7 separate regions of the Homo sapiens genome follow, and all the other regions are linked to region 3. The links are contacts of gene promoters, found by promoter capture Hi-C in blood cells and fetal thymus (Javierre and others, 2016). All regions are on one chromosome and are shown on one strand. The core of a region is centred on a gene start or on the middle of the fragment in contact, and the rest is flanking DNA. Distances in the headings are between cores, read along the strand shown.

Region 1 (4,111 bases), core at 965-3,464, 240 kb before region 3:
TGATGCAGAATTAGATATCCAAAGCCCAAATTGTGACCCCACAGGGTAGGGAACTTATTTGTGATTAATAATATAGGTAAATGTCTTGTTTTGCTTTATTTTGTTTTTATAATGGTAACAATTAAGGAAACTGAATCAACTGGAGATGAAGCAGAAGCAGCAGCTGAGTTTAGGACAATGGTTCCCAAATGATTGATAGCAGGCATTAGAATCACTTGGCACATTGGTTAAAACCGGTTTCTAGGCCTCACCTTCAGAGTTCTGTTTCAGTAGCTCATGGGTGGGGTTCGAAAATCTGCATTTCTAACAAGATCCAGGTGGTGCAGATACTGCTGGTCTGGAGAACACTCTTTATGATCCACAGCTTTAGGGTAATGGAAAGGAGCAGTTGGAGCTGAAGAAGTCAGAGAAAAGCATCTTGTAAGCATCTAAATGGTCAGAAATGGAAAAGGAAGCTCAGAGAGATTCTTGAGAGGGCCCCAGGGAATGTCAATCCTATTTACAGGACAATATGTCCTAAGCAGACTTCACTTCAATGACCAGAGGATGACAGACCTCAGTTTGTAAACTAAGAGAATCTTGAGAAAGGTCAATTTTGGCCTGGAATTGAAAGAGAAATAAGTTTTTAAAAAGGAATTTCATTATTAGAATTATAAATAAAATCATGCAACAGTAAGAACTCACAAATAAGATCTTGTAAGTAGAGTCAGCAATTTTTACCACCAAGGAAGAGAAGCCAAAAGACTGGAGATGGGCAAATGAAGTTCTATTTTTTAAATTATCAATAATATTTTAAAATCTATTTATTGAGGTATAATTTACTTACACTAAAATGCATAAATCTTAAATATATACTTGGACAAGTTTTGAAAAGTGGATACACCTGTGTTATCACCCAACTCAAGATATGGAGCACTATTACCCCTGCAAATGTCCTCAAGCTTTACCGTTACTCCCCTCAACCTTGAGGCTACCATTCCTGGGATTTCTATCACCATAAAAAAGTTTTCTATGCTAGTGAATTTCATATACATGGAATCATATAATATATATTCCTTTGACATCTTTCACTTAACATGTCTCTGAGATTCATCCATGTTGATGATCAATAGGTTGTTCCTCTTTATTGTTGAGTGGTGTTCCATTGTATGAATATACCATAATTTGTTCATTCACTCACTTGTTGGTGAACATTTGGGCTGTTTCTAGTTTGGGGCTGTTATAAATAAAACTGCTATGACCATTCCTGTGCTACATGTAAATTATACTTTATTAAAGAAAACAACAAATACCAAGTATCTATTAAAACATCTTTGGACACTTTAAAAGAGCAAATAGTGATCAACAGAAGTAAAGCATATCACTAAGAAATCATTTCCTTTTTTGGCAAGGGAATTTCAAAGACAGACGACACCTGCTGTTATGAATTTTAAAGACCTCTTTTGTTGAATTCAGGTTAATTCCATTCTGCAAGACCACAGGGGGGAAACTATGAAATAGATATACTGAAACTCTACGATATACCAGGCTCTTTGCAATAGCTGGATGTTTATAAGGTGGCAAATTTGAATCAATTTGACAAAACTGGGAAGGGAGTATGTATTCCCTAACTTAAGGAGTTCAAGAAAAGGTAAGCCATGATTCTCAAACTCAGCTGCACTTTAGGCTGTAATTTAATTGGTTCAGGGTAGAGTCTTGGCATCAGTATTTTTTGAAAGCTCAAAGCTATATATAATGATCAGCCAGGTTTGAGAACCATGAAGCTAGATGACTATTTGTCTGAATGTAAATTAAATGAGAAATTAAAATTGAGAGGAAGACAAATGGAAATTTTAATTGATTGCATATTATATGCTAGACATGATGCTTGCTGTCTAACCTCTATATTATAACTATATTAATACTTGAAATCTCTTAGCACAGTGTCAGGCGCAAAGTAAGCTCTCAAATGTTTCTGTTGTTATCTTCTCTGTAACCTTATAATGCAGTCTCCAAATGCATCCTAAAACATTAGCTTATACTGCAAGTTTTATCATCCCTACATTATGGATAAGGAAACCAAGATTCAGAGTAGTTTATTTTGGGAAATGCAATACATGGTAATTGTAAAACCGGGATTTAATCCTAATTTAAAGCTAGTATGCCTTCTCTGCCCATCAGGTCATATCTAAGACATATAGGTGTTCACAAAAATTAGTAACTTACTTAAATGACCCTTTCCTTTTTAATTGAACCATTTCCTTTTACCTGTTCTCAAAGAAATTACCTTAAATACAAATCCTAAAAAAAGTGAAGCCAAAAAGTAGACATCCACATTTTTCCTAATGTGGCTTGATAGAAACTCTTCTATAGGTCTTGACAACCTCTGAGGTCAGAGAGAATGGATTAAGATGGCCCTTCAGAGCTCAAAGCACTTAACATGGAGAAAGTACTGCTTCCAAGTAAAACACCTCCCATAATAATAAATGCATAGAGAGCATACCTGTCACTTCTATATAGTCTAGGACTTTAATTATATAATAATGTTGAAGGAAAGGAAGTCAGTCCTGAGGGGGATGGTCAACTCCTCTCAGCCAGGCTGGTCCTCTCTGAGTTTGCTTGTGTGCAGTAGATGTTTTGAATGTGTGTATTTGCTGCAGAAAAAAAGGAAACATTCAAGGAACGGTACCCCCCTCAATGAGCCTGAGTTCCTCAAGGGCAAAGACAACCTTTACTATCCCATTCAATCCTTACTTATGCTAGTATTCAATAAACAACTACTGCAAGATTACAATTACAGACCACTAATTTTCAAAAAGTATGTTTTTTTGTTTTTTTTTTTTTTTGAGACGAAGTCTCTCTTGTCCCCAGGCTGGAGTGCCATGGCTCAATCTTGGCTCACTGCAGCCTCCACCTCTTGGGTTCAAGCGATTCTCCTGCCTCAGCCTCCCGAGTAGCTGGAATTACAGGCGCCTGCCACCACACCCAGCTAATTTTTGTAATTTTAGTAGAGACGGGGTTTCACCATGTTGGCCAGGCTGGTCTCGAACTCCTGACCTCAGGTGATCCAGCCGCCTCGGCCTCCCAAAGTGCTGGGATTTCAGGCGTGAGCCACCCTGCCCGGCTGCTTTTTCAAGTAGTACGCGTTCATTGAACTGACTTAATGCAGAGCTAGACTCAGATATTTTCCTTTTCTGTTGCTAGCCAACTGTTAAAATACGACTGAAAATATTTTCTGAACATCATGTACATTTGTAAACTAAAAATAGAGCATTTGGCCGGGCACAGTGGCTCACGCCTGTAATCCCAGCATTTTGGGAGGCCGAGGCAGGCACATCGCCTGAGGTCGGGAGTTTGAGACCAGCGTGACCAACATGGAGAAACCCCATCTCTCTACCAAAAACACAAAATTAGCCGGGCGTGGTGGCGCATGCCTATAATCCCAGCTACTGGGGAGGCTGAGGCAGGAGAATCGCTTGAACCCAGGAGGCAGAGGTTGCGGTGAGCGGAAGCTTGCCATGAGCCGAGATGGTGCCATTGCACTCCAGCCTGAGCAACAAGAGCAAAACTCTGTCTCAAAAAAAAAAAAAAGAGCATTTTACTTTAGAAAATATGCATATATTGGTCTTAAAAGTCACTAAAAATTAAACCAATATAACTGTGTCAATTTGGCATCAAAATCTACCCTGCCTATATCAAGAAAGTGTTGCACAGTACATTTTGCAAAATATTCAGTGCATCTTAAGTACTCAAGAACAGTTCATTAAAGAAATTTTACTCACCTTCTTTTTACCCATTGGCCTTGAATTTAAGCAAGATAACCCTTATCTTAGTCACAAGAAGCTTCAGGAGGAGAAAGTATTAACATGTTTAATTTTTACAGATATTTTATATGCTTTCAGATATTCCTCAGGAAGTCGAGACATGCTGTCCTATGTAATTTTAGATTTACTAGTAGCCACATTAAACAATGGCAAAATGAGGATAATTAATTTTTCAATATATTTTAACACAATGTCAAAAATATTTCAACATGCAATCAATATGAAAAAAATTGAGATATTTTAACATTTTTCTTTCCATACTGAGTCTTCAAAATCCAGTGTGAATTTTATATTTATAGATCTCAATT
Region 2 (3,968 bases), core at 1,407-3,906, 160 kb before region 3:
CAGAGCAGAACTGAAGGAGATAGAGACACAGAAAACCCTTCAAAAAATCAATGAATCCAGGAGCAGGTTTTTCGAAAAGATCAACAAAATTGATAGACTGCTAGCAAGACTAATAAAGAAGAAAAGAGAGAAGAATCAAATAGATGGAATAAAAAATGATAAAGGGGATATCACCATCGATCCCACAGAAATACAAACTACCATCAGAGAATACTACAAACACCTCTACGCAAATAAACTAGAAAATCTAGAAGAAATGGATAAATTCCTGGACACATACACCCTCCCAAGACTAAACTAGGAAGAAGTTGAATCCCTGAATAGATCAATAACAGGCTCTGAAATTGAGGCAATAATTAATAGCCTACCAACCAAAAAAAGTCCAGGACCAGACAGATTCACAGCCGAATTCTACCAGAGGTACAAGGAGGAGCTGGTACCATTCCTTCTGAAACTATTCCAATCAATAGAAAAAGTGGGAGTCCTCCCTAACTCATTTTATGAGGCCAGCATCATCCTGATACCAAAGCCTGGCAGAGGCCCAACAAAAAAAGAGAATTTTAGACCAATATCCCTGATGAACATCGATGCAAAAATCCTCAATAAAATACTGGCAAACCGAATCCAGCAGCACATCAAAAAGCTTATCCACCATGATCAAATGGGCTTCATCCCTGGGATACAAGGCTGGTTCAACATACACAAATCAATAAACGTAATCCAGCATATAAACAGAACCAAAGACAAAAACCACATGATTATCTCAATAGATGCAGAAAAGGCCTTTGACAAAATTCAACAGCGCCTCATGCTAAAAACTTTCAATAAACTAGGTATTGATGGGATGTATGTCAAAATAATAAGAGCTATTTATGACAAACCCACAGCCAATATCATACTGAATGGGCAAAAACTGGAAGCATTCCATTTGAAAACTAGCACAAGACAGAGACGCCCTCTCTTACCACTCCTATTCAAAATAGTGTTGGAAGTTCTGGCCAGGGCAATCAGGCAGGAGAAAGAAATAAAGGGTATTGGATTAGGAAAAGAGGAAGTCAAATTGTCCCTGTTTGCAGATGACATGGTTATATATCTAGAAAACCCCATCATCTCAGCCCAAAATCTCCTTAAGCTGATAAGCAACTTCAGCAGAGTCTCAGGATACAAAATCAATATGCAAAAATCACAAGCATTCCTATACACCAATAACAGACAAACAGAGAGCAAAATCATGAGTGAACTCCCATTCACAATTGCTTCAAAGAGAATAAAATACCTAGGAATCCAACTTACAAGGGATGTGAAGGACTTCTTATGGAGAACTACAGACCACTGCTCAATTAAATAAAAGAGGACACAAACAAATGGAAGAACATTCCATGCTCATGGATAGGAGGAATCAATATCCTGAAAATGGCCATACTGTCCAAGGTAATTTATAGATTCAGTGCCATCCCCATCAAGCTACCAATGACTTTCTTCACAGAATTGGAGAAAACTCCTCTAAAGTTCATATGGAACCAAAAAAAGAGCCCGCATTGCCAAGACAATCCTAAGCAAAAAGAACAAAGCTGGAGGCATCATGCTACCTGACTTCAAACTATACTACAAGGCTACAGTAACCAAAACAGCATGGTACTGGTACCAAAACAGCATGGTACTGGTACCAAAACAGAGATATAGACCAATGGAACAGAACAGAGCCCTCAGAAATAATACCACACATCTACAACCATCTGATCTTTGACAAACCTGACAAAAACAAGAAATGGAGAAAAGATTCCCTGTTTAATTAAGTGGTTCTGGGAAAACTGGCTAGCCATATGTAGAAAGCTGAAACTGGATCCCTTCCTTACACCGCATACAAAAATTAATTCAAGATGGATTAAAGACTTAAATGTTAGACCTAAAACCATAAAAACCCTAGAAGAAAACCTAGGCAATACCATTCAGGACATAGGCATGTGCAAGGACTTCATGACTAAAACATCAAAAGCAATGGCAACAAAAGCCAAAATTGACAAATGGAATCTAATTAAACTAAAGAGCTTCTGCACAGCAAAAGAAACTACCATCAGAGTTAACAGGCAACCTACACAATGGGAGAAAATTTTTACAATCTACCCATGTGACAAAGGGCTAATATCCAGAATCTACAAAGAACTTAAACAAATTTATGAGAAATAAATCAAACAACCCCATCAAAAAGTGGGTGAAGGATGTGAACAGACACTTCTCAAAAGAAGACATTTTTGCACCCAACGGACACATTAAAAAATGGTCATCATCACTGGCCATCAGAGAAATGCAAATCAAAACCACAATGAGATACCATCTCACACCAGTTAGAATGGCAATCATTAAAAAGTCAAGAAACAGGCTGGGCACGGTGGCTCACGCCTGTAATCCCAGCACTTTGGGAGGCCAAAGCGGGTGGATTGTGAGGTCAGGAGATCAAGACCATCCTGGCTAACACGGTGAAACCCCGTGTCTACTAAAAATTAAAAAAATTAGCCAGGCATGGTGGCTGGCGCCTGTAGTCCCAGCTACTCGGGAGGCTGAGGAAAGAGAATGGCGTGAACCTGGGAGACGGAGCTTGAAGTGAGCCGAGATCGTGCCACTGCACTCTAGCCTGGGCGACAGAGTGAGACTCCGTCTCAAAAAAAACAAAAAAAAACAAAAAAAAAACCCCAAAAGTCAGGAAACAACAGGTGCTGGAGAGGATGTGGAGAAATAGGAATACTTTTACACTGTTAGTGGGACTGTAAAGTAGTTCAACCATTGTGGAAGACAGTGTGGCGATTCCTCAAGGATCTAGAACTAGAAATACCATTTGACCCAGCCATCCCATTACTGGGTATATACCCAAAGGATTATAAATCATGCTGCTATAAAGACACATGCACACGTATGTTTATTGCGGCATTATTCACGATAGCAAAGACTTGGAACCAACCCAAATGTCCATCAATGATAGACTGGATTAAGAACATGTGGCACATATACACCATGGAATACTATGCAGCCATAAAAAAGGATGAGTTCATGTCCTTTGTAGGGACATGGATGAAGCTGGAAACCATCATTCTGAGCAAACTATCTCAAGGACAGAAAACCAAACACCACATGTTCTCACTCATAGGTGGGAATTGAACAATGAGAACACTTGGACACAGGGTGGGGAACATCACACACCAGGGTGGGGTGGGTGGAGGGGGGAGGGATAGCATTAGGAGATATACCTAATGTAAATGATGAGTTAACAGGTGCAGCAAACCAACATGGCACATGTATACATATGTAACAAACCTGCACGTTGTTCTCATGTACCCTAGAACATAAAGTATAACCAAAATATATATATACACATACATATACATATATATCAATATTTATATACACTAATATAAAATGGATATGTATACATATATACATATATCTACACACACACACCCATATACATACATACACACCTCTAAACCTGGATTCCTAAAGGTTTTCCCATGCCAGTATGGCTTAGTGATTGGATAGAGGTTGTGCTGAAACACTTGAGCCAATGAAGTTTCTGTCTTTTGCCAAAGGATCTCTGTGTGGTAGGGGAGCTCACTCAGAGTTCAGGTGCTTTCAAGCTGACTCAAGCTCCAGCTTTTACTGACCACTGGACCTTTTCTTATCTCTTTTATGCAAACAAATTCAGGGGTAGCCGGGATTGAGTGACTAGCTCGGGCCTTCTCCAGGAAATATACACAGCCAGAGAAGTATTCTCCAACTGTGACTACAGCCTCAGACTAGTAGAGCAGTTGGCTTTCCCTGTTTACCCACCTCAGAGATCAGCACTTTTACCAAATATGCTGCTGGGAGTGGTCATTTCTCATCACTCCAGATTGAGTGAGCTCTCATGGATCGTGACAGAGAAGCTGCCTGTCCTCATGGCCTGGCCTCCTTCTATAAAACCTCTGTCCTTACTG
Region 3 (3,790 bases), core at 570-3,069:
ATAAATGGGACCTAATTAAACTAAAAAGCTTCTGCACAGCAAAAGAAATAAACATCAGAGTAAACAGGCAACCCACAAAATGGGAGAAGATATTTGTAAACTATGCATCTGACAAAGGACTAATATCCAGTATCTATAAGGAACTCAAACAAATCAGCAAGAAGAAAACAAATAATCCCATCAAAAAGTGAGCAAATGACATCAATAGACATTTCTCAAAAGAAGATATACAAATGGACAACAAACATATGAAAAAATGCTCAACATACTAATCATTAGGGAAATGTAAACTAAAACCACAATGAGATACCACCTTATTCCAGTAATAATGGCTATTACTAAAAAGGCAATAACAATAGATATTGGTATGAATTTTGTGAAAACAGAATGCTTGTAGAATGCTGGTAGGAATGTAAATTAGTACAACCTCTATAAAAAACAGTATGGAGATTTCTTTCTTTCCTTCTATGTATTTATTTATGAGACAGGGTCTTGCTCTGTCACCCAGACTGGAATGCAGTGGCATGATTTGGCTCACCACAACCTCAGCCTCCTGGGCTCAAGCGATCCTCCCATCTCTGCCTCCTGAGTAGCTGGGACTACAGGTGCATGCCACCGAGCCTGGCTAATTTTTTTTTGGTATTTTTTTGTAGAGAGGGAGATTCACCATGTTGCCTAGGCTGGTCTCGTACTCCTTGGCTCAAGCAATCCACCTGCCTCGACCTCCCAAAATGCTAGGATTACAGACATGAACCACGGCACCTTTCTTTCATTCTTAAAGAAAGAACTTTAAGTACTAAAAGTAGATCTACTATTCAGTCCAGCAATCCCACTACTGGGTATCTATCCAAAGAAAAAGAAGTCATTATATATTAAAAAAAAACACCTGCACATGTATATTTATTGCAACACAATTCACAATTGCAAAGATATGAAACCAATCTAAGTACCCATCAACTGATGAATAGATAAAGAAACTGTGGTGTATATATACCATGGAATACTACTCAGTCATAAAAAAGAATGAAATAATGTCTTTTGCAGCAACTTGATGGAGCTAGAGGCGTTATTCCAAGCGAAGTAACTCGGAAATAGAAAACCAAAAACTGTAGTTCTCACTTATAAGTGGAAATTAAGCTATGGGTACGTAAAGGCATATGGAGTGGTATAATGGACTTTGGAGACTCAGAAAGAGGGAGAGTGGGAAGGGGGTGAGGGATAAAAAAATACATATTGGGTACACATACATATCCGGTGATGGGTGCACTAAAATCTCATATATATATGTATATATATATATATGTATATTTATATGTATATTTCATCCATGTAACCAAAACCCACTTGTGCTCCAAAAGCTATTGATATATATATATATATATAATTTTCATATGTTTTTATATATATGAAAAAAGACAGCAAATCCCTGTCTTCCAAATCTCAAGTCATAGGAAGAGAAAAACATTCATAAAATTCTAGGTTTGGAGATTTGATTTGTCGGCTGAAACCTCTTTCTGTTAATGTTGATTCCTTACACTGGAAAATTCCTAGACTATTATTTGTATGAGTGAGAATTTCTTTTCTGATTTTCAATCCAAACCACATGGAAAGAAGGTTAAAATGGAGCCCGTGCACTTTGAATTTATTCTCAGCATTTAGGCTGCAGTATCACAGCCCAATTTCCACCAGTAGGAGGCATTATCTAAACATGTTGAGAAATATTCATTCCTAAGGAATGACATTGTTTCCTTATCTGGCTCAATTCAGTCTGAGAAGGACTGTTGTTTCTGATGAAGAAAGAGCTCCACCCTCGGCCACTGCCACAGCTGCTCTGCCAATAACAAAGGCACAGCATTTTCCCTCTGTGCATCTCCAACATGGATGCTTTTCAGGGCATTTTAAAATTCTTCCTTAATCAGAAAACTGTTATTGGCTACAGCTTCATGGCTCTGCTGACCGTGGGAAGTGAGCGTCTCTTTTCTGTTGTGGCTTTTAAGTGCCCCTGCAGCACTGAGAATATGACCTATGGGCTGGTTTTCCTCTTTGCTCCTGCCTGGGTGTTACTGATCCTGGGATTCTTTCTGAACAATAGGTCGTGGAGACTCTTCACAGGCTGCTGTGTGAATCCCAGGAAAATCTTTCCCAGAGGCCACAGCTGCCGTTTCTTCTACGTCCTCGGCCAGATCACTCTGAGCTCATTGGTGGCTCCAGTGATGTGGCTTTCTGTGGCTCTGCTCAATGGAACTTTCTATGAATGTGCCATGAGCGGGACGAGAAGTTCAGGACTCCTGGAACTGATTTGCAAGGGTAAGCCCAAAGAGTGCTGGGAAGAACTTCACAAAGTATCTTGTGGCAAAACTAGCATGCTACCTACCGTCAATGAAGAACTGAAACTCTCCCTTCAGGCCCAGTCTCAGGTAAGAAAAGACAAACTCGCCTTTTTCTCTCAGCATGAGCTCGAAGTATTCTCTCTGTGCTCCTTTCAGCCAGGGCTGTCTGTGTCCTGTCAGAATATTTTGAAACTAAATGGAAACTGAAACATGATGCAGCATTGAGACTATCTCAGGAAAAGCTTTTGAAAGGCTGGGTGGCTCAATAAAGTTGCTGACTGGATTATCTCTTTTCCGGTTCTGAAAAGAAAATATCCACTGGATTGTCCACATATAAATACTTAAGTACTTTAAAACAGTCTCTCTGGGTCTGTAAATAAATAATGCCTAACACTAAATCATAAATTGAGTGTTAATGGCAGAGCTGTAATTAGAAATTACTGCCTTCTATCAATTATTTACATTCAAGTTGTTTTCTCAAACACACACATGTATTATTCATCTATTAAAATGTAGCTGAATGAAATGAGTTATTACTTTTCAAAGTTGCATGTAATATAATTAGTGTGGAGATTCTCTTGAATGATTTCTGGCAACTGCTATCTCTGTGTATAAATATTGTCAAGATTGAGAAGAATTTTCCTTGTATGGTAGGAATCAGCAGTTTTTAAATAGCCTTCTGTGAAAAAGTGACTGTACTCTCTAGGGAGATTATGTTTTATACTCTTTGTGCTGTACAGCTAAAGGGGTTCTTAATTACTTCAGAAGCTCAAGATTTGGGCATTGTTTTATTTAACAGAAGGAAATCATATCTTTACCTAATTGATGCAGGGAAGTAGCCTGTCATTCCTCCAGGCACATGAACACAAATCCAGATGTACAGCCTTAGGAAGGACTAACTTCCCATTTATAGGTAGTAAGAATTGCATTCCCAAAAGCAAAACAAGTGGTAAGAGTTGATAAGCAGATCCACAAATTGTCAGGAATGCTATCTGTTTCAGAATAAAGGCACAGAAATAGCATTATTTTACTTTTTCGACAAGGATTTGCCTTGGTAACAACAAATCAAGGCAAAATCTGTTTTTAAAATCATACACTCCAAAGCTGGTTGGCAGTAAAGTCATACTCTTCATAAATTGATAAGTCAAAAAATACTCCAAAACAAAATCTTTTCTTTAATGCATAAAGCACATCTTAGATAAAACATATCAGGCTCCCAAATGTCTTGTGTCTTTTATTGAAGAAGGGTATAACTTACAACTCTTATGACAGAATGATTGATTTATGGTGTATGTCCTCAGTCACCAGGCTCCATTCAGTCAGTGGCAGGCCCAAACACTTATCATTGTGTGAGCTTCTCCTCTCTAAACACAGGTACAAGGAAATCTTGCACATCATGTCATAGCTTAGGCTGAGCACACTGACCTGCTGATTCTTCATCAGAATGAGAAGGACCTGGG
Region 4 (4,116 bases), core at 1,462-3,961, 140 kb before region 3:
TGAGTTAATAAAAACTAATCTTCACAATATTTTATATAATTAATAAACCAGAAGAAATGTGGCAAATAAACATATTCTCTAATTAATACTTCCTTTGGTTCAAGTACCTGTTTAGTAACACTTTTTTTTTTTTTTTTTTTTTTGACACCGAGTTTCACTCTTGTTGCCCAGGCTGGAGTGCAGTGGTGTGATCTCGGCTCACTGCAACCTCTGCCTCTTGGGTTCCAGCAATTCTCGTGCCTCAGCCTCCTGAGTAACTGGGATTACAGTGTGCGCCACCATGCCCGGCTAATTTTTTGTGTGTGTTTTTAGTAGAGATGGGGTTTTGCCATGTTGCCCAGGCTGATCTCGAACTCCTGGGCTCAAGCAGTTTGCCTGCATTGGCCTCCCAAAGTGCTGGGATTACAGGTGTGAGCCACCTCACCCAGCCTATTTAGTAACACTCTATAAAACAGTGGTTCCAAACTTTTGGTACATTGGAATCACAGAGTTTTAAACACCTCAAACTTTCTAATTTGGTTGGTACAGACTATAACTGGGGCATCGGAAGTTCTTTTTTTGTGGGGGGGATGGAGTCTTGCTCTATCGCCCAGGCTGGAGTGCAGTGGTGCAATCGGCTCACTGCAAGCTCCGCCTCCTGGGTTCACGCCATTCTCCTGCCTCAGCCTCCCAAGTAGCTGGGACTACAAGCACCCACCACCACGCCTGGCTAATTTTTTGTATATTTAGTAGAGACGGGGTTTCACCATGTTAGCCAGGATGGTCTCGATCTCCTGACCTCGTGATCTGCCCATCTCGGCCTCCCAAAGTGCTGGGATCACAGCCGTGAGCCACCGCACGTGGCCGGAAGTTCTTAAAGCTCTCCAGATGGTTCTAATGTGCAGCAAAGTTTGGGAAGCACCACTACGTAGCATTGGTTCTAACTCTGGCTGCACATTGGAACTATCTCGTACCTTTAAAAGCATATGGGGTATCTGGACTTCATCCTAGAAGGAATTAAATCAGAATTTCTAAGAGTACAACTAGGCATTGGTGTGTTTTGGGTTCTCCCAAGTGATGCTAATATGCACCCAGGGGTTAGAATTACTATTATAGAATACTGCCACGACAATCCTTATCTCCTCCTGAAGAGCACAGAAGGCTTGATTTCCAAACTATTGCAAAAACTGGCATGACCTCAACTACTTTTAGCAGGGTTCTGAGAGGTAGGGTATCACTCACCTTAATTGCTTCAGATCCTGCCTGAAAAATGCCCAGGCATGTTCCAGTCCACACAAGACTGATTCCAAAGGGTGTATCTCTCATTGACAGCCCCTAGAACCATTCTAAGTTATGACAATAAACACCTACTTACTGAGTTCTCATTCCTTGGCAGGTATTTTATATACAACGTTTGGTTTGCTCCTTCCAGAAACTGTATGAGAAAAGTTTGCATATCAAAATCCTACTGATGAGAAAGTGGAACTCAACAATGTTAAATGACTTGCCTGCCTAAGGTCACACAGTTAGTGACAGAGTCTAGATTTCAGCCTAGTTTTGTTCAACTTCAAAGTCCTTGCTCTTATTTGATGGACACATTAAATTATCCACCATGGTATCTAGACTGGGACACAGCCACAATCTGAAAATTGAATTCTAATTTAATAAACGTGCCCTCTGCCAGGAAATATGAGGAATGGCTATAGAAATGAAGAAGAGTCTCTACCATGAAGGAGCTTATAATACTAAATGTTACACTCCTTTTGGTCTATTAAGTCTAAGGAAAAGAATAAACATCTAATTTCATTCATTCATGTAACAAATATCAGTAATTTTTGTAATTTCAGAGAACAATATTATAATTTGGAAGGTGTTTAGGACACCTTAGGTAGTTTATAATAAGAGGTGATATAAAATCATCCATTTCAAAAGTCAATTGTCAATGAATGGAGAATAGCTTTCAACTGAGGCCAGGATACGCAAACTGTAAATGAGGCTTTAGACACAAAAAGTTAGTCTAGGCCAAGTGGTTTAGTGGAAGGATCCTAGATTTTATGTCAGAAAACATAATTGTTATGTGGTCTGAACCATTTATGGTTTGGGAAATTCACTTTAACTTTCAGAGCCTCTGTTTCCTCATCAGTCAGTGCCTGTGAGGATAAAAGGAGACACGTATGGACGTGCCTGGTACATTTCATGACCTATTAGAAGATTGTGAGGCCAGGAAGTATGTACCTGCAGAAATCTCAAATTGTGACTTGCAGTGGAGGTGGAATTCAATTATTATTAAGAATGTAGGTCAATGTTTCATTTTTTTTAAAGATGAAAACTAAGCCCACGAAGCTTGAGTCATCTGGAGATGAAGCAGTCGCAGCGGAGCAGTCTTGGTAATGGAGAAGATCATGTCAGCGCTGAGAAAGGCAGGGAGGGAGGCCTGAGCAAGGAAGCTTGGAGAAGCCTCTGGAGGATGCCTGGCCAGGGCTGAATGCTCAGAAATGGAAGGGAAAGCTCAGGAGATTATCACTGAATCAGTAAGTACAAGTACAGGGCAGTATGGCTTGAGCAAACCAAAATGATCTTACTTCTTCTGTGATCTGAAGATGAGAGAATCTATAGGTGCAGGGTAAGGCAGTTTTACAAATAGAATAATTTTGGCCTGAGGAAGAAAAACAAAAAGCATTTCAAGAATGGAAGCAGATGTATAGTCATGGACCAGACTGATTAGTAAAACATAAAAGGCAGATTAAAATTTAGTTTAATGAATTAAACTCAAGAGGAGAACAGAAGCCGCATACCTGTAACAGCCCTGTAATATTGTTACTCTGTTATTTTAGGCTAAAGCCAAGAATAAACTAAGGACGACAACAACAAAAAATAACATTTTGTTTTGTTCAGACAAGAAGAACATGGAAGGGATGCCTCTGCTTGAGATAAAATGGATGACTAAACAAAACTAATTCCCTTTTTTTTGTCTTCTCTATTATGTAAAAATAAACCATTAAATGTAAGGGATAAAATAAGCTTTCAAAGAGTTAACTGAAAAGATAGGTGAAGAAGCTTGTAAGAAAATATGTCCTAGCTGTCTAAAGCTTAACTTCTTCTTGCCTAGTAAATTTCCATCTCAGCAAGGAGAGTTTACCAATAAGGACTCTCAGCTAGAATCAGCAGAGGGAGATGAACACTAAAAAACTGGAGGTGGACAGATGGAGTTCCAGTTTTTGCCTTAGTCTGAAACCGAGGCAAGAAACTTTTCACAGATACTGAACAAAATGAATAAACCTATTATTAAAATGACATCTGGATACTTAGAAAAGGAAGACACAATTTTGTAGACATGAACCACAATTCACTAAGTAGTCATTTCCTTTGTTTTTTGACAATATTACAGTAGAGCAAAGACATCCAATAGACAAAGCTCATCTGCTGTCTGTTTGGAGCTGCATCTAGGCGTAAGGGGTCACTTTTTCCTAATCCTTCAGCTAAGGTGAGAGTGGGGATACCTTTTTCTAATTCTTACAAAAGTGCCACGTACCCATGTACACAGGCTGCTACCCTGGGACAACAGACAAAAATAGGACAAGGTAACATGTGGGTCCTCAACTGATAAGAATGTTCATCAGTAGCATTCAAATCCAGTGTCGGTTGGCAGAGGAAGGTACCTGAGAATGAGAACTTAAATGATGGCATGGCATACAGACCGGATTTACAGAGGTCATGAAATTGAGAGGTGGAATTACTCAGTTATATCAATGATACCCAATATGTCAACAAGCTAAGAGGCCTAATTTAACACAATAAAATTCAGTAGAATCACAGGTAAAGTGCTGAACACTGCATTGAGTGTAGTTGTTTAGTTCAGTGATTCTCCAACTAAACTTTTAACACTTTAAGGTTTTATTTGGTAGATTGTAATATGGAGTCAGCTGGGTAATATTGCTGCCATGGAAGCTCCAAGGATATACTTAGGGAAATACAGTAATTACAACAAAGCCATTAAACATCTTTCTAGTTTGTCACTTGGGTGAAACCTTGAATTCAATTCTTGGCATCAGGGTTTGAGAGAGATGTTGGCAAAGTAAATCTCCTCCTGAGAGCTTTCCTAATGGATGAAGAAAAGCTGATGGAGTTAATATGTAC
Region 5 (4,056 bases), core at 472-2,971, 220 kb before region 3:
CACATACAAATTGATTCAATATGAAAAGTTCATATTATGGTATCCAGCTTAATACTTTGGTTGTCATAACACTTCATCCATTAGCTGAGAACTCTGCCTTGTGAGTTCTTTGGCTCTGAGACTATATTATAACTTCACTGGGTTTGTAAGCAAGCCATTCTATGCACATCTGTTTTAAAAATGTGACAGGTTGATTTGAAAAATACCATATTTCATTCATCATCATAAATAGAAATATTTATATTTATTGAATATTTACTACATAATAGATACTGTGTTAAATGCTTTTCATATATTATTTAATTGCCTCACCCCTCCATTACATAGGTAGTATTCACCCTGTTGTGAAGATTAAGAAATCCCAGAGATATCAGGTGACTTGCCTAAAGTTACATGACTAATAAGTAATGGAGTATGGATATAAACCCAGTTTATTGGCTTCAAAGCTCTTTGTACTATGCCATGTTGCTTTTCTGATTTCTTGAAATCTTTGACAGTAACCGGGGAACTCAAGGGTTACTGCCACCTATTTTCTAATAACTTCGTTTTCTTGGATCTGTATCATTAGTGCCTAGCACCTAGAAGATTCTTAGGCAGTGTTGGCTGCATTGATTGAATGATTCCACACTGATGGCTAGCTTAAACAGCCATGGAAACTTTAATTATAATATATTAATCTAAACAGGACATATGGTTTTTAGGAGTTAAGTGCCCTCAGGGGAAGCATTTACTAAATGTGGGGCACATTTTAAAAGTAATATCTCCTGCTACTGCTGATATTTCTAAATTAACAGTATTTCTAGATTCTCAGACTTGGGGTTCAGAGATTTCACTTGCTGATTAATTAATTCAAGGATATAAGAGCTCTAGCAAATAAATATTTTATTAATTTGTACTGTTCTACACTCAGGAGCAATTATTGAAAATCAAGGTTTGTTATCAGGAAATACATGAAGTCTTATTTGGAAATAATTCCTTAAAACTCATCCTGAGAAGAGACAATCTGCATCCTTCCCACTTAGTATATCATCTACCCATTTGTGGTCTCTCATAATTGGAAATATTTCCCTAATTCCAAAAGCAGAAAGGAATCCTCTTAACTGCTAACTTCTCTCCCAAAGGGAGAAACTTTTTCCAGCCAACCTCAGTGAAATTGTTGATTGAATGCTGATCCTAGAACTGCATTATGAATGCAAAAAAGTAAACAAAGCACCCATTCTAAGTTTGCTCAATTTTCTGGCCACCACTGTGCTCTGCAATGTCATCTGTAGCACAGAAGATTGGAGGCGTAGACTTGAGACCAGACCACTTCGTCTGTTCTTTCCAAACTCTCTAAATTCAAAACATTTGTTGAGGTTTATGCAGGACACAAGAGTTGTGGGATGGCATACAAAAATCTGAAAGTCATGGACTTTGTTCATTAGGGACCACAGTGTTGTGGAGAAGATAGACACAGAAACACATAATTATAATACCAGATGAAACAAACAATTATAATACCAGATGATACCAATAATTATAATACTAGGAGAGTGTTGTTCCAGCAAGAGAGATGTGGACAAAGGGCTTTGGGTGCACAGAATAGGAAATTTGTATTCCTATATTGATAAGAGAGCTTGGTAAGAATTCAGAGGTGATAATTTTGAGATGAGTCCTAATAAGAAAAATAAAATTATAATAAGAGAGAGGGGGTGAAAATTCCAGGTTGACTAAAATACCCTGAACAAAGACTCAAATACAAGTAGAAGTCCAGCCAGCTTGAGGAAATGACTGAAAGATAGGGAGATTAGTTGGGGGTGATGGTTAGGTAAAATGGAATCTGATAGTTAAAGGCTTTTTATTATACATTATTATATGTTTATGATATATTAAATATAATTATATATATACATATTTGTTAATCCTATGGGTATTAGAGGATATTGGAGGCTTTTAAACAGGGGATTGACATGGACAGTGTCAGAAAATAATATTAATTGCCATATGGAAAATGATGTGAAGGTTATATGATTAAAGGCTGGGATATCAGTTGTGAAGTATTATAAAAATGCAGGCAAGGGTAGATGAGGATATCTTTAGGAATGTAGTAACTGACAACAGAATATGTCAGATAAATTGTAGAACCAATTGAAAAACTAGATATGAAAGTAGACAAGAAGTTAAGGAAGACTGATTTGTTTAGTTTGGGTAACAAGGATGGGTGGAAATGTGATTGAGTTATGGAATACAGGAAGAAGATCGGGTTGTAGTGGGAGGAGAGATCAACAGTTCAGCTACAGACAAGGAGAGTTTCATGTGACTCTAGGGAGATGTTGGGTATTTGTAGATCAGATAGATTTGGGTATTTGTAGAGCAGGAGAAGAGTGGGGTTTACAGTTAGACTTGGAAATCTTGAGTGTTTAGGTGATAGTTGACATCATCAGAGTGGACGAGAACACCAGGAAGACAAGTAGAGGAAGAAGAAAGGAAGGCCAAAAATAGAGCTCTGAGGAACACTGACGTGAAAGAAACAGATGAGGTGGCACAAGTAGAGGAAACTGAGAAATAGCCATTAGAGGTAGGGAAAGAACCAGAAGAGTGTTGTTTCAGTATGCAAGGGAAGAATGGACTTCAGGAAGCTAAGGTTCAAGGGATGCAGCCATATTGAGTGAGATGAAGACTGGGAAGAAAAGTTTCCGAATTGGGCGGCAGCTATACAGCATGGGTGTCTTTAGTGAGAGCAATTTCAGAAAAGTAGCAAGACAGAAAAATTGCAGAGTTGAAAAAATGAATGATAAATGAACATATAGATAGTGTGTGAGGCCAGTTCTTTCATAATTGTCAGTATAGAAAAGGGGAAAGACTGGATGACAAGTTCAAGGAGATGCAGGGTTGAGGGAAGAATGTTTGTAGGGAGCAGCATTGTTGGGAGCAGAGTAAGGATCTGATTATTACACTGAAGTGTTGAGGAAGCAAACAAACAAAAAAAAAGAAAACAAACTGAATGTCAGTAAGTAGAAGAAAGGTTGGATAAATTATGGCATGTTTATACAACTGAATATTACGTAACCTTTAAAAGGAATAAATTGGATCCAAAGTAGTGACCTGGAAAAGCATCCATGTTAATTAGAAAGATGTAAAAGAACATTGCAGACCAATAAGTATATGCTAATTATATTTTAATAAATATTAGCTGACACCCTTGTATCTATATAAATGCAAGAAATATTAAGAAAGGATGTGTACCCAGTTGCCAACAGTGGTGATCTCTGGGGGATGAGGATGGGAAGGGGACTTTAGCTTATTGCTTCTTAGAATTTTAAAGAGAGGTGGTGACATTAGGAATGACTTTTACACATTGGATTTAAAATATTTTTCAGACAAACATTAAAGAAAACCCTCTCATACAATGATGAGATAATTTAACTTTATATAATTAACTACAGAATTCAAAGAAGAAAATAACATAAACGAACACATTTGCTTTAATAAGTTATTGGGCTTGTATTTAAAGCTGAAGCAAAAACATTTGCTCAGATGTGATATTGAGTTCAAGGTGAATTAAAGGTTTTTCCTTTTCTTTTTTTCTTTTTTTTTTTTGACACGGAGTCTTGCTCTGTCACCAGACTCGAGTGCAGTGGCGTGATCTCAGCTCACTACAACCTCTGCCTCCCAGGTTCAAGCTATTCTCCTGCCTCAGACTCCCAAGTAATTGGGACTACAGGTGTGCTCCACCATGCCCAGCTAATTTTTGTACTTTTGGGAGAGACAGGGTTTCACCATGATGGTTTGTTTTTCTTAATTCTGGAAGATGAGGCCAATATTTGTTTGAAGAGTGATTTAAAATAGCTGAAATTCAGTCAAAAACTTAATTTACTGGGTTGTACCTCTTTATTATGAAGTATTGGTTGCTTTTAAAATGAGCTAGAGGCCAGACATGGTAGCTCACATCTATAATCTTAACACTTTCGGAGACAAAGGCAACAAGATTGCTTGAGCTCAGGAGTTCAAGATCAGCCTAGGAAACATAGCGAGACTTTGGCTGTACTAACAATAGAAAAATTAGTCAGGCATGGT
Region 6 (4,182 bases), core at 1,175-3,674, 180 kb before region 3:
GCTGGAGTCCAGGGGTTACATAGAAGTCACTGGTATTACAGGATATTTGGAGGTCAAAACTTTAAAGTATTATCCATAATACTTGAATCCAAACTGCTCTTGGTAAATATTTCTGTTTGTTTCCGGTGAGCCCATTATTTGTTTATGCTTTCTGCCTCATTGGCCATTCTACATATTTTCTAGAAAATGTTCTATGATATATTTTACCTGCCTAATTTTGAGGGCAGTTGAAACCATTATGTGTGTTACTACAAAAACTGTGTTCTTACACAAGTAAATTTAGAGACACAACAGCTAAAAGTCTTTCTTTTAGCTGTTGTGGTATTTTCACTACTTTTAGTGTAAATTCAGGTCTGTTACTTAACATGGAGCTTCCGCCACAGAGGCCAGAGGAGCACATCAAAGCCAAAAGCACAGCAAGTCATCGGAGTTCAGATTCTTTTCTGCTTCCCTGCAGAGGGGTCAAGAATATAAACATACTCAACTGCTACAGCAGGAGGGAACATTAGCCCATCAACAGAACCAAACAGGAAGCACCAAATGGGCATTTCTTCTGTTTATTTTGTGATTATTAAGAAAGACGTAGTTTAGTTCCTTCAACCAAATTTGTCAATGAAACATAGAAAACATACAAGGTACAGTCATTTTGGTTAGGGGAGAGTCTGATTGTGAAAGGATTCAATGCTGTTTTTTCCAGTTATTTCACTTACTACAATGTATACAATAAGTTCTTAGGGTGTTGGAATTTAAAACTAATTAACATTTGTTACACTCTTTTGAGATTCACATTATGAGTCACTTAGATTTTAATCAAATTTCTCATACGTTTCCTTTCTGGACCGAGGAGACTGTGCACATATTGAGCAGAACAATTTTGCCTCCCTTCAGTTTGAGATGGGGTGCGAAGAGTTTCAGATACAGCCAGGAAATACCTCAAATGGCACTGCAGAGGTCTGTAAGACTGACCAAAATTTAAAATCTTGGTATATCCATTCCATTACATCAAAGTAAGTTCTAGTACTCCACTGCCAGTATCAGCAGATAATAAAAAATGACGCACATTGTAATGATTCAAGCAAGCCCAGTAAAGGAGCAAGAAGGAATGTAATATCTATTTTTGTGAAAGTTTCCAGAAATAAATCAACAAACCACTTTATTCTTCTTATAATTACTTGGAATCTCTTAATTCCAGAAGACTATCTGGCCTGCTGTTTAAAAGGAAGTGAGTGTTCCCTTTCAGCTTGCTTCACTATTTTTCTCATCCAGTCAGTGGTATGGGATACCAAGGATGGGATAAGGAGAGTAGTTCACCCCTAGTACAGGCAATAAGGGCTGCTTTGTGTGTAGAAAATTGAAAAGAAATAAAAATAAAATAATAATAAAAGCCAGTTCTGCTTACTACGCCTGGCAGTTCCGCTTACTATGCCTGGCAGTTCCAAGCAATATCAACAATACTACTCCTCTTTGAAAAATAAAAAAACTTTTGTTGGTCTAAGTTCTAAACAACTGCTGCAGTTGCTGAAATTTAACAAAACAAATGTAAGCTGAATATTACGTTTTTATTATTACTTATTATTTAATAAACATTGCATTCTATGTGGAAGTAATTCTAACTCTCAAATGCACATGGACTCAGCTATACTTGTTTATTTCAAGAATAAGCAGTCAAGTTCTGTTTCATTTTTATAATCACTCTGCTGTAATTGTTTATTTTTAGTCTGTGTTTAAATACAGGCTTACATAGTACCACAGGGACTGGAGATGTGACCTGAGCCTGAAGCAAGCTCAAATAATTCACAATCATTACAAGCTTTGGAGAATTTTACCAAATATGATAGAAATTTATGATGAATTTTCTGGTGAAGTTATTTTAGTGGAAATTTTTCAACAGCAGAAATATTTGAAAACTGCTGGAACTGATCCCAAAGAAAAAAGGATATGGGTAGTACTATAATTTCTGGAATTTATTGTGAAATGGGATTTGTATGAATCTGATGAATGTATTCTTATTTTAAAGATTTCATCACTATTTCCATATCTGTTATTTCACGTGAAACTTTTTGAAATTAAAATAAAAAATGTTCTTCAATCAACTATGAGTGATGTCAACACATCTGACCGCACTGATTTTACTGACCATGACTATATAAAGATTAATTTGACAAAGCATTGACAAATTTGCAAAAATTAATGCTCAAAGTCAGAAAACATAAAGTGATTATTCTTCACTGAGGCAAACCAGTATATAGGTATAAATATTTTTCTTTTCTTTTCTTTGAGATGGAGTCTTGCTCTGTCCCCAGGCTGGAGTGCAATGACGCGATCTCAGCTCAATGCAACCTCCGCCTTCCGGATTCAAGTGATTGTCCTGCCTCAGCCTCCCGGGTAGCTGGGATTACAGGCGCCTACCATCACGCCCAGCTGATTTTTTGTATTTTTAGTAGAGATGGGGTTTCATCATATTGGCCAGGCTGGCCTTGAACTCCCAACCTCAGGTGATCCACCTGCCTCGGCCTCCCAAAGTGCTGGGATTACAGGCGTGAGCCACTGCGCCTGGCCCATACTAATGTACTTAAAAAGTATTAAACCTTAACTTTTTGCATTTTCAGCTAAAATATATACTTTATTAATTTATTATTAGCATGATTACATAGTCAAAATTGAATAAATGAAAACTTTCACTGCCTGCATTTCTTTTCTGGACATAATTATTATTTGTTTCATTTCAAAATTATTACTGAAAATACTTTTATCATACAGAGGAAGGCGTATTAAAAATGGTCCCTTTCAGGCATCAAGTACCTAGCTATGCCACTGCATGCGTCTATTCATTTTAACTCAAAACAAAATGCATTTTTAATCTTTTTGGTATTACATATGTTTTTGACAATTATGCCAAAAAGCAATTTATTTTAATAAGGGAACTCTTAATAATCAAGAAATAGAAAGAGCTACCCTTAAATACAACTCTCAACTACCACCGATTTTGGTAATAACTATTTCTAGTTAATATATTTGATGTTTTGATTATTTTATTATAAGCTTAGTAGGATAAGAAAAATACAAAAAATACAACTGCATAAATCTCAACATGATGAAATAGAAATTATGACTATCTCCTTATGACTCAAAAAAGCTGAATCACTCATTTTAAACCTTCCAGTCTAGCAAATACCCTGATTTTATGCCTTTTCAGAAAACAGAAAAACAAAGATGTTCTCCAACCTAGCTTATAAAGTCAACACAACTTTGATATAAGAACATGAACATTAAATGATGAGGAAAAATTGCAGGCAACCTCAATCATGAACAGATATGCTTAAATTCTTAATATTAGATAACCATACAACATGTATATATGAAATGTCACAAGTTGAGTTTGTTGCAATTATGCAATGTTAGTTTAATATTAGAAAACTGAGAATTTATGACATTAACAGAATAAAGGAAAAAATTATATGATAATTGTACTAGATGCAGAAAAGCAGTTGGTTAAAGTAAGCATCTATTTATGATTAAAATACATCTTTGGGCAAACGAAGAATAGAAGAGAGCTTCTTTAATCAAATACAGGGTATCTACAAAACACCAATAATAAACACCATAGAAATACTGAAAACTTTCTTTCTGTGATCAGGAATAAGATAATAGTTGTATTAGTTCATTCTCTTGCTGCTATGATGAAATACCCAAGACTGGGTAATTTATAAAGGAAAGAGATTTAATTGACTCACAGTTCTGCAGGGCTGGGGAGGCCTCATGAAACTTACAATCATGGTGGAAGAGAAAGCAAACACATCCTTCTTCACATGGTGACAGCAAGGAGAAGTGCACTGCGAAGTGGGGAAAAGCCCCTTATAAAACCATCAGATCTCATGAGAAGTCACTCACTATCATGAGAACAGCATGGGGGAAATGCCCCTATGATCTAATCACCTCCCACGAGGTAACCCCCCAATATATGGGGATTACAATTCGGATTACAATTCAAGATGAGGTTCTGGGCGGGGACAGAGCCAAACCATATCAATAGTTACCAACATTTCTAGGCTACCTGCCACTGAAAGTCCTAATTAGTGTGGTAAGGAAGAAGAATTGAAAAGAACAAGTAGGCCGGGCACAGTGGCTCACGCCTGTAGTCCCAGCACTTTGGGAGGCAGAGGCAAGCAGATCACGAAGTCA
Region 7 (3,979 bases), core at 119-2,618, 200 kb before region 3:
GCAAGAGAGTAATGATTGGTAAATCTGGATAAAAACTACAAAGAAGTTCTTTGTACTATTCTTGCAACCTTTCTATAAGTTTAAAATTATTTCAACATAGAAACTTTTAAAAACTCAATTTTTAGATATTGAACTTATGTAACTGTTATCCAAACAACAGACTTTATTATAACATACATACACACACAGGTACATACACATACAATTTCATAAACTTCCCACTGCCCATAAAAAGAAATTTTAAGCTCATAAACATTATGCTCAGGGAGTTTCTACAATCAGGTCTCATCCTAATTTTCCTGCCTCACTTTTTGCTTTCTCTAAGGCACTCCTTACTCTATATATGCTGAAATGATTATGTTTGTTTCTCCTTCTGTGTTTTTGTTCCTGCTGTTTGCTCTATAAGGTAAGCCCTCCCAGCTCTTCCACTGGTTACCTCCTATGCCTGCTTTGAGACCAAGTTCAAATGTTGCTTCTATAATACCCTTCTCTACAGCACTAGGCAGATACAACTCTTCCCTCTTTTTGTGAACTGAATGTTGTGTTCCCCCAAAATTTATATGTTGAAGCCATAACTCTCAATGTGATACTCTTTAGAGATGGGGCCTTTGGGAGGAATTAGGGTTAGATGAAGTTATGGGGGCAGGACCCTAATGATGGGATTTGTGCCCTAAGAGCTCTCTTTGCCTTGGGAAGATACAACAAGAAGGCTGCCATCTACAAGCCAGAAAGGGAGCCCTCCCCAGGAGCCAAATTGACTAGCACCTTGATCTTGGACTTCCCAGCATCCAGAACTGTGAGAAAATACAAAAAACATTTCTGTTTTTTAATCTATTCAGTCTATGTTATTTTGTTAGGGCAGCATGAGCAGACTAATATACCTCCTCTGTGTATTCATACAACTTTACACAGAGGTAAAATATAGCAGTTAGAACTCTATCTTATATTGGGTTGTTGATGAATCTTTCACACAGGCATGTGAGTCCTGAGGACAGCAGCTATGTGTTTCATCTTTCTGTCCCTAACTCACTGCCTGACCCATGGAGACCTTAAGTCCAGGCTTGCTGAATGAATATGGCATAATCTGAACCTGACCACTCCAATCATTCATTAACCTTACTGTTTGGGTGTGGATTGATCATTACTTTTCTTGAATTTGTGACAAGATAATTTCAGCAGTTGACAGACAGCTAGTTTCTAGTCAAGCCGATGCATTGTATATGCTCCTACTTGCCTGTTCCTATGTCTTCAGTGATGGATTCAGTGACCTGAAGAGTGTATCTTAATAAAGAATTTTGAATGCATTTGGTTGAAAACATTCTGAAAAGAACCTTTTCTTCATACATTTTATATGGATATGAACTAGACAATAATGTATGCTTATAATAATTGAGAAGTTTTTAAAAATGAGATGCTGTTACTAATAAATTATGATTAATTCTTTCTCTAAAGGTAGTACGAAGTTAAACAATGGTAGGAATCTTGGTCTCTGTTTATTATCCTTACTCCAACTCATCTTTCATTACAAATAATTTTTTTATACAGTCCCCTCTCTACCCTCTTACACAGAGGCATTTCAGCAGATATTTTATTGAAAACAAAACACTGTGCAGCCCATGCTGCACAAGGAAAGAAGTGTGTACAAGATAATTCCAAAGGGCAATACATGTTTCTAGTTAAAAATTGGAGGGTCATGTAAATATGAACTGTTTAGTCAAGTTCAGGTAAAATTAGGAGGAATTACTGGAAAAGCGTGAACAGTGAATATATTCCTTAGTTCTAATTCTTTCAATAGTCATCTCTATCAACTCAGAGATTGCTTTTGCTTGTTTTCTTTGTTTTTTATTTCATTCTGTACAGGGCCTTGAACATTCAGTGACAATTTATGGTAACTGCAGAGTATACCATCACCATCCTGTGTTCTTTGGATAACCAGCTGGCCTAATTTTGAATGTCCTGAACCACATATTACTATAGCTCTGTGTTAACTATGTCATGGAGTGGATTTATTTCTCCTGTTGACTATTAGACAACCTGGTTGCTTCCACTTACTATTTATTCAACTAATACTGCCTGTTATATTGTATGTTGTAAGAGTTGGAGGCAAGTTGTTTCCTGGTAAGCATTAGACTCAGAAATTCTGGGAGTGTTTTTGTTTTGTTTTTAAGCTCGGCTTCAATCTTGTAAGAGATTTGTAAATCTCGTAAATGTATAAGGTAACATAGAACTTGATGTGACCTTGTTTACTCTTAGATATTTTGATATGAGCTGTTTAGACAGAAAATATTTGTTGATAAATATGAATGAAAACATAAGGAATATTGAACAGGAGGTTAAATGTCAAAGTATTATGACGATGGCCTGGCATAGTAGGTGGAATGAGGGCTTTTTAATGAGAAAGATCAGTGCCCACATTCTTGTTTTGTGACTTACTAGCTATATTTTTAAAGCAATTTACATAAACTCTTGAGCCTCAAGTATACCTTCTATAAAATGGTGATAATAACACCCATCTTTTGTTGCATTTTTTTGTTTTTTGGGGTTTTTTTTGAGATGGAGTCTCACTCTGTCACCCAGGCTGGAGTGCAGTGGCATGATCTCGGCTCACTGCAAGCTCCGCCTCCCGGGTTCATGCCATTCTCCTGCCTCAGCCTCCCAAGTAGCTGGGACTACAGGCGCCCACCACCATGCCCAGCTAATTTTTTGTGCTGGGATTACAGGTGTGAGCCACAGTGCCCGGCCTTGTTGCATTCTTTTGAAAATGAATAAAAACGGTATATAAATTATGAGTTACCGTGCCTTGAGCATAATAGATACTCATAATAGATATTCTAATAAATAGTGGCTCTTATGGTTAATGTTTTTTAAATCAAGAGGACAAATAAGATCAATTAAAATTTCTAATTGATTATTACTTTTACTAAAAGTTTTTATTTTGTTTAGAACAGCCATTAGTAAATTGAACTTATTATCTCATGATGTTTTTATGAGGAGCAAATTAAAGAAAATTAGAATCATCTGTTGTGCTAGATGACACATAGCACTCAATGTGCTCATTTTATTCCCCCCTCATCCTGTATACACACAACTCTACTTTTTAGGTGGATTTCTTCCAAGATGGTCTAGAAAATAATTTTTTAAAACTTAGTCATTATATATTTGGAATACACATACATACATACATACATACATACATACACACCACTCTAAAATGAAGAAGGTCAATTGCCTATTATCTATTGTCTAGCATGGGTTCTATTATTGCTCCTTTATATGTTTAACTATGATGGTATTAACTTTTGTTCATATATGGATGAGGATAGTATTTATGTATTAGTAGATATATCTGTTTTTAGTTATACATGAATTATTCATCTTTGCTTATATTAACCCAAATATAAAAATAACACAATAGTTATTGTCTGTTTGTGCTGCTACAACAAAATATCTGAGACTAGGTAATTTATAAAGAGCAGATACTTATTTCTAACAGTTCTGAAGGCTGGGAAGTCCAAGATCAAGGCACTAGCAGGTTGATTGTCCAGTGAAGACGTGGCCTTGAACCGCAAGATGGTTCAAGATGGTGCCTTGAACACCATGTTCTCCTGAAGGGAGGAATGCTGTGTCTTCATATGGCAGAAGGCAGAAGGACAAAAAGGGAGCAAACTCCCTCTATCAAGCCCTTTTATAAGGGCACCTAATCCAATTCATGAGGGCAAAGTCCTCATGACTCAATCACTTCTCAAAGCCCTCATCTTCCAGTACTGTTGTATTGAGGATTAAGTTTCCATATAAATTTTGGAAAGAAAAAAAAAAGAAGCATTTAAACCATAGCAGTCATGCACATAAGGAACATTCAAAATTTTGCCAACTATTAGAGTTTACTGAATATTTATTGTGGCCAGGTTTTCTGCTAGGCACCTCACATATATAATCTTATTTAATCCCTACAAATTCTTACAGGAAATTACTGTTTTAC

Evidence for each region. Contacts are between HindIII fragments. The CHiCAGO score rates a contact against its expected background, and 5 or more counts as called.
Region 1: a contact is called between a fragment that was not itself captured here and the fragment with the promoter of CALHM5 in region 3, in 9 of 17 cell types (naive B cells, M1 macrophages, M0 macrophages and 6 more). The highest score is 11.4, in naive B cells.
Region 2: a contact is called between a fragment that was not itself captured here and the fragment with the promoter of CALHM5 in region 3, in 1 of 17 cell types (neutrophils). The highest score is 5.7, in neutrophils.
Region 4: a fragment that was not itself captured here is called in contact with the fragment with the promoter of CALHM5 in region 3 in 9 of 17 cell types (naive B cells, total B cells, monocytes and 6 more); the score reaches 15.8 in naive B cells.
Region 5: a fragment that was not itself captured here is called in contact with the fragment with the promoter of CALHM5 in region 3 in 16 of 17 cell types (naive B cells, total B cells, neutrophils and 13 more); the score reaches 26.8 in naive B cells.
Region 6: a contact is called between a fragment that was not itself captured here and the fragment with the promoter of CALHM5 in region 3, in 6 of 17 cell types (naive B cells, total B cells, M0 macrophages and 3 more). The highest score is 9.1, in naive B cells.
Region 7: a contact is called between a fragment that was not itself captured here and the fragment with the promoter of CALHM5 in region 3, in 13 of 17 cell types (total B cells, naive B cells, neutrophils and 10 more). The highest score is 15.7, in total B cells.

Annotation. Positions count from the first base shown.
Region 1 is chr6:116,271,025-116,275,135 of GRCh38, forward strand. It overlaps TSPYL1 (TSPY like 1), which reads right to left. Exons shown (of 1, transcript NM_003309.4): 1 at 3,834-4,111. It also overlaps a transcript of DSE not described here. Among named protein-coding and RNA genes, the nearest start is that of TSPYL1, 6.8 kb to the right of the region's middle. RefSeq lists an enhancer at 102-603. The HindIII fragment of the contact is 2,550 bases long and covers 940-3,489 here.
Region 2 is chr6:116,345,768-116,349,735 of GRCh38, forward strand. It overlaps a transcript of DSE not described here. Among named protein-coding and RNA genes, the nearest start is that of DSE, 23 kb to the right of the region's middle. The HindIII fragment of the contact is 4,031 bases long and covers 642-3,968 here.
Region 3 is chr6:116,509,820-116,513,609 of GRCh38, forward strand. CALHM5 (calcium homeostasis modulator family member 5) reads left to right here and starts at 1,820. Exons shown (of 2, transcript NM_153711.5): 1 at 1,820-2,417. The coding sequence starts at 1,878. The region is part of intron 3 of TRAPPC3L (trafficking protein particle complex subunit 3L); the gene reads right to left. RefSeq lists an enhancer at 1,531-2,112. The HindIII fragment of the contact is 2,544 bases long and covers 27-2,570 here.
Region 4 is chr6:116,364,708-116,368,823 of GRCh38, forward strand. It overlaps LOC100287467 (a long non-coding RNA gene), which reads right to left. Exons shown (of 1, transcript NR_148944.1): 1 at 2,718-4,116. It also overlaps a transcript of DSE not described here. Among named protein-coding and RNA genes, the nearest start is that of DSE, 4.2 kb to the right of the region's middle. The HindIII fragment of the contact is 574 bases long and covers 2,425-2,998 here.
Region 5 is chr6:116,289,712-116,293,767 of GRCh38, forward strand. It overlaps a transcript of DSE not described here. Among named protein-coding and RNA genes, the nearest start is that of TSPYL1, 12 kb to the left of the region's middle. The HindIII fragment of the contact is 6,300 bases long and covers 1-4,056 here.
Region 6 is chr6:116,327,566-116,331,747 of GRCh38, forward strand. It overlaps a transcript of DSE not described here. Among named protein-coding and RNA genes, the nearest start is that of DSE, 41 kb to the right of the region's middle. The HindIII fragment of the contact is 1,232 bases long and covers 1,809-3,040 here.
Region 7 is chr6:116,306,146-116,310,124 of GRCh38, forward strand. It overlaps a transcript of DSE not described here. Among named protein-coding and RNA genes, the nearest start is that of TSPYL1, 28 kb to the left of the region's middle. The HindIII fragment of the contact is 6,577 bases long and covers 1-3,979 here.